2 separate regions of the Homo sapiens genome follow, and region 2 is linked to region 1. Evidence: promoter capture Hi-C in human tissues and cell types (Jung and others, 2019). All regions are on one chromosome and are shown on one strand. Each heading gives the region's core, a stretch centred on a gene start or on the middle of the fragment in contact. The rest is flanking DNA. Distances are from core to core; before and after follow the strand shown. Region 1 holds the start of TUBGCP3 (tubulin gamma complex component 3). Region 2 overlaps ARHGEF7 (Rho guanine nucleotide exchange factor 7).

Evidence for each region. The method cuts DNA at HindIII sites, captures the fragments that hold promoters and counts their contacts. A contact is called where the count stands out against the background at its distance.
Region 2: a fragment that was not itself captured here is called in contact with the fragment with the promoter of TUBGCP3 in region 1 in 1 of the 25 tissues and cell types used here (dorsolateral prefrontal cortex).

What each region holds. Positions count from the first base shown.
Region 1 is chr13:112,586,721-112,589,603 of GRCh38, forward strand. TUBGCP3 (tubulin gamma complex component 3) reads right to left here and starts at 1,433. Exons shown (of 22, transcript NM_006322.6): 1 at 1,185-1,433. The coding sequence starts at 1,260. LOC124903251 (a long non-coding RNA gene) reads left to right here and starts at 1,466. Exons shown (of 2, transcript XR_007063945.1): 1 at 1,466-2,696. RefSeq lists silencers at 904-1,023, 1,054-1,113, 1,144-1,363 and an enhancer at 1,429-2,248. The HindIII fragment of the contact is 4,898 bases long and covers 1-2,883 here.
Region 2 is chr13:111,184,922-111,187,804 of GRCh38, forward strand. The region is part of intron 2 of ARHGEF7 (Rho guanine nucleotide exchange factor 7); the gene reads left to right. Among named protein-coding and RNA genes, the nearest start is that of ARHGEF7-AS1, 38 kb to the left of the region's middle. RefSeq lists an enhancer at 49-308. The HindIII fragment of the contact is 3,787 bases long and covers 1-2,883 here.

The DNA of each region.
Region 1 (2,883 bases), core at 183-2,682:
CAGTAGAGTGTCTGTCAGATCTGTGGGAGGAATGACTTGTGCATCTGCATCACCAGCACTTAGCACAGTTCCCGGGGGGAACTTTGAGGACGGGGTTGTCCTCAAAGATTTCTTAGATAAATAAAGTGATAGAATCAAACTTTACAAGATGCAGCAAGAACTGTGTGAAGTCACTCATTTAATAGCGACACAAAATTATTCATGATTGCCCCAAGATTATCATAGAACATCCAATGAATTATGTACAGTAATTGTCATGAAGCATGAAAGGTCAAAATGCATTCTCAGTACTTTAAATGTAACTTTGAAGTCTTCCTTCAAAAATTGAGTAACTTCTTTTCCACATTTTGGTGCTTAAGATGTAACTCAGTTGCTTCCATTACTCAGAAAATTCCCTCATGGTGCATCCTCACTCTCTGCCCCACCAACCTGGCCAAAACAAGGAGCAAGAAATGGCATCCTGTACCATTTCTTTCAAAGTACCTCGACTACAAAATGGTTTTACCTACCGTATAGGATTAGTTTTGCTTATTAGTAACAATATTCGCCATGTGAACTTTCCCAGAATAGTTTTATATCAAATCCAACCTTCAACCCTTTAAACAGTAGGAAAACACGGCAGTTACAGTCGTTAACACCCTCTTCCCATAATACTCAAGCCTGTTAAACTTTCCTAACGAAAAGGGACGATGATGTGACACTCCAGCACCCCGCATCCACCTCCGCGGCGCAGCCGCTCTCTCCACCCCACAGGATGAACCCAAAGGCGCGCAGAGGCGCCCTCCCACGGCGCGTGACACCAGAGAAGGGGGATAAATTGGCGAGCTGGCATTCCTCCCGTCCTCACTGACGGACCCGCGAGCGGAGTGAGCGGTGACTCAGCCCGCTCCGGCTCGGCTCCGCCCTCCCGCCTCCCGCCCCGGCGTTCTCGCCCCGGCCTTGGCCTCTCCACTCCCTCCGCCCCGGTCCTGGCCCCCAGCCCTCCGCTGTCCTCCCCGGCTCCCTGACCCTCGAACCCCAGCCCTCCGCTCCCTCGTCCGGGCCCCACGTCCTCGGCCCGTCCCCCAGCCCTCTGCCCGGCCCTGCATCCTCGTTCCTCCAGCCCCGGAACGTATTAGGGCTGCACGCGCAGGGAGCAGCCCCCGGGACGGGTCTGCGGGCTTCGCGTCGCCCGGCCACTCTACCTTCGCTCCTGCCCAGGATCCTGCAGCACAGGTTCTGCAGCAGAACGTTCGGCGACTTCTGGTCCGGGGTCGCCATCCTCGCCCGGAGCCGTGCACGGTGGTCCGGGCAGAGCCGCCACTGCCGCCGCACGCGCAGGGACCGCGGCCCGCGCCCTTCCTGCGCCCCGCAAGCTCCCTGCTCCTGACAGGCTAAGGCGCGGGCGCCGCCGGCCACCAGGGCGCCATTTTAACGGAACCCGCCGAAAGCGCGGGCGCTTCCCACAATGCCCCGCTTCTTCCCTGCGCCGCGGCCGCGCGTGCGGCTGCCTAAGCGTTCCCGGCCCTGTCTGGTGCATTCCCCCTGCTGCTGCCCGGTCGGCCGAGAAAGTTCCGGGCGACAGGTGGCCCGAGGCCCTCGAGCTGCGCGGACAGAGCGGCCCCGGAGTCGCGAGCGTGACGGGCTTGCTTGGAGGGCACTTGGTGGCCGGTAGCACCATAAAGGCCATAATTTGGTGTGTGGGTGTGGGGGTGTGTGTGTTAACGGCATTGGTTTGATTCACACTTCTGATGAAAGAAGCCTGTTTAAAAAAGAAAAGAAAAAAGAAGCCTGTTTAAAGGGTGCAGGGTGTTACGATTGTTAACGTGCAGTGGGCAGTTCACCTGCTACGCTATCCAACAGGCGCCCTGCTCAGGCCCGACCTCGCACTGCCGCGCGGGCCGGTCCCCCCCGGCCCGGGTAACTGGGACGTCCTGGGAAAATAAATTAATCACGTACGGAGTGAGAGAACAGGAAACCTGCCGAGAAAAAGATCGATAAGCAGACAATTACACCAAGCCAACTTCAGTGCAATCGTTAAAGCTTACACATGGGTGCACGCTTGGGAGCCGTGAGCTACCATGTTAAAAGGCCAACTTCCTAAGGAAAAATGATGGAAAGAGATCCCGAGATCCTATGAAATGGAAGAGGGAGGACAACCCAGCTATCCCAACATCCCAGCTGAGGCCAGCCACACACGTGACTGTCTGCAAAGCCCGTCGGGCCTGGGTCCAGCTCAGGTTGCAGAATTGTTGGCAAGTAAAACGTTTGTTGTCGTTCTGACTCAAAAACATGGAGACAAAGCAGACTTGTAGGGTATTACAGTCAACAACTAGACCCTACAGCTAAAGGACTGTCTCCTTGCATGATGCAACAACCATCACAGCTCTGCAAGAGCAACCAAACCACCAAGGATGCGATCACCCCTCACTGCCTTCGATACGCATTCTGTGGAAACGCTTCTAAACTTGCATCACACTCAACACGATCAGTTAGTAACTGGCTTCTCATGAAGTTATTCTCTCAGCCGCATACTACAATGTCCAGATGTCATCTAAATCCTGCCACCCTCTCCCCCACCTTCAGCTGAAACGCTGCATGACTGCATCATCTTACCTGACCAGCTCTCTCCTAGGACAGACATGCAAGAACCCCCCTCACTAACGCTGATGTTATTTGGTTTACAGATGGCTCTTACTTAAAGATGCAGCTGGAAGGTATTACACTGGTTATGCCATAGCGTCTTTGCCCAAAGAAATAGAAAGTGCTTGTCTTCCAGGAGCAATCATCTCAACAAGCAAAGTTAATAGCATTAATTAGAGCCTGTCAGTTGGCAAAAGGAATAACTGCTAATCTTTATACCAATAGCAGGTATGCTTATAGAGTAGCTCATAACTTTGGAAT
Region 2 (2,883 bases), core at 132-2,631, 1.4 Mb before region 1:
ACCTGTTTCCTGTGTCACACTTCAGATGGGGGATAGTCCAGGCTGGTGGTGGAGCTCCCAGGGGATTTCGCTTCTGGGTAGAATTGTCATTTTTTTTTTTCCTCAGAGACTGTTGTGTGGGCCTAGTGGTGCATCAGGTTCCGGTTAGAATCCAGTGCAGGCCGCAGGCTTCTCTTTAATTAGAGAGGGTCACTTCACCTCCGGTTAGAATCCAGTGCAGGCAGCAGCTTCTTTTTAATTAGAGAGGGGTCTGGGTGCTGAGCTTCCCATCAGGAAGAAGGGGCTGTCGTGCTGAAGTCCTGAGGTGGGTCACGTGTCCCTTCCTGTGTTAGAAAACCGTCTTTGGTGCTCCTGGGGCTCCCTTACAAGTGCTGTTCTGAACTGTTAGGTCATTCAGAGTCCATCTGCGTCCTGTCCCCAGGGATCTCCTCAAACCCTGTTTAGACTGCTCATAGCCTTTCCCTTTTTAGCACTACAGCGGGTTCTTTCTCTGTTAATTTTTTGAAGCTTTTTCTTTCTCTCATTTCGGTGGCACCTTGGGAGGGATGGGAGTTAGATAGGTGTTTGCAGTGGGCCATCTTGAGAAACTTCTCAAAACTGGAGTCTTGTAACTGCTTGCATTTTGAAGTTAATGGAATGGGCGCATTGCCTTTATAGCTGTAAATGTTACTGCTTCACTTACTGTTAGCCCAAGCCAGTGTGTTGCATCTGCCCAGATCCTTCTTTGTGGTATGTGCTCACTTTCTGGCGACAGCCAGGCTGTTCTTTGCAGGCATGTGCTCCTAGCAGTCGAAGACAGAAGTTTGGGGGCCTGTGTAGGCTGTATGGGCTGCTGTGTGTGTGTACGTGGTGAGTTGTGTCTGAGACCACCCCTCCTCCCCTGGGTGCTGCCTGATCTGCCTGCATGACCGCTGTGGGACACCACTGTCTCTGGTGTCCTTTCCTGGCTGGCAGTGTGGTGGTGTGGGCAAAGCCAGGCTGGTGGGCTCCGATCTTGGTTCTGCCTTTGTAAGCTTTGTCACACTGTCTTTTGGGAGCTCGTGTGTGTGTGTGTGTGTGTGTGTGTGTGTGTGTGTGTGTGTGTTTTCGTTTTCTGCCTGTAAGATAAACTGGCATGCAGTCTACACTGAGGTACGGGCTGTGTGGGCCAGCACAGCATGCCGTGGTCCTAAGCAGGGAGGTGTCCTTCCTTTCCCCTGCCTGTTGGGGCTGCGCTTCCCTGCCTCGTGTGGAGGTTGCGCCCGGTCTGCAGAAGGCAGAGAGCATCTTGTTGGGAAGAGCCCTGCCTGCCTTCCCGTTGCTGTGCTCCTGCCTCCCTGCTCTGCTCCTCTCACCCCTTCCTGGAAACTACCTAAAATACTTGGTTACTTCTTTTTTGAAGATGTATTCTCTGTCCTAGTGTTTGGGTGTTGATACAGTGGAATCCACAAAATTGAATAAGATTTGATTTTCATTTTAAAGTGAAATAAATCATTTGGGTGCATGTTGGGTGAAAGTGCCGTAATTGATAGCATCCGTCATCAGACTTTAATTTTACCCCTGGGGTGTAGGAGTGGGTGGGATTAAGTACAAAATCTGCAGAAGCCAGGAAGTGAAAACGTACTGCTGGATTTCTGTTTTTCACATGTCCCCAACAATATGGACCATTTGCATTAAACTTAAATAGCACCACTTATTTAAGATTCATTTTTTACTCTTGTTCTGAAATCACAAGTTCCATTTGACAGTGATAGGACAAAATTATATTTTTAAACTTTGCAAACCACACTCCAGAGCTGTGCTAAAAATAACAATTTCTTGTGTCAAGAATAACTTTCTCAAGTTCCTGGAGGAGGCGAGCTGACTGGTGGCAACGCAGACCACTAAAGCTTCAGTGAGCCCAGAAAGTGTGCGCTCAGTCCCACATTGCAGAGGCCTCTCCGTCAGTATTGAGATGGTGGAAAGTGAGGAGAAGCAAAAAGACGACTACTTCTTTCCCCATTTCCCGGTCTGGTCTTTTTGGGGTCTACTACGTAGAGGTGCATCAGCCAGCGCTACCATGGAGGCAGGAGGCATTCTTTTGCTCTCGTGTCAGTACTGACGGGGTTGATTAAGGTTGCTGTGCTTGTTGGTGTGGGTATTGGGAGGGTGGTGTGAAAGCAGTTGGGCTGGAATAGAGCTGGTCAGTGTGTCCTTTTGCGTGCATTTGTGTGGCCCTAGTGCTACAGTGGTGTCCCTTAGCTCTGGGGGACTGTCTGAATTTTTGTGCTCTAAATTATTAATACATGTTTATGTGTGGGTTTGCCAGAATGCTGTGTCCGTTATTGTTGGCTCCTTGGACAGCTCTCCTTGTTCTGCTTCACTGGCTGTGAAATTGGTTCACGTGGTGGGCTCTGGGTCCAGCGAGATGCATCTGAGGTGTTGACCTGGTGGTGTGGGCCTGGGGCTGCCAGTGGTCCTGTTGCCTGATGAGGGAGACCGTTCCTGAAACTGTGGCGCACACTCAGGAGAGTAGGAAAGAGAGCGGAGAAAGCCTTCCGGTTCTGAGCTTGTGGCTCTTGCCATTCCTGACTTGTTTGTTGTGCGAACCAATAATTTCCTTTTTTTGTTTAAGCCAATTTGAGTTGGGTTTACTTGCTTGTAGTGGAAAGGTTCTGACACAGGATCTTTATTATATGAAGTATTTTCATAATGTACATTGTGTTATATATTAGACATATCACACGATCTATTTTGTGATGTAGTTTGCTTTGCTGTTTTTATTCTGTGGAAGATATTCCTGAATTTCTACACTTCCTATGAATTTGGAAGTGGGGTGAGGCAAAGTCACTAATATCGGGGTATCAGTAGGGGAGCCTTTCGAATCCCAAACATTGGAGTGTCCTTCTGTGACCCGTTTCTTTG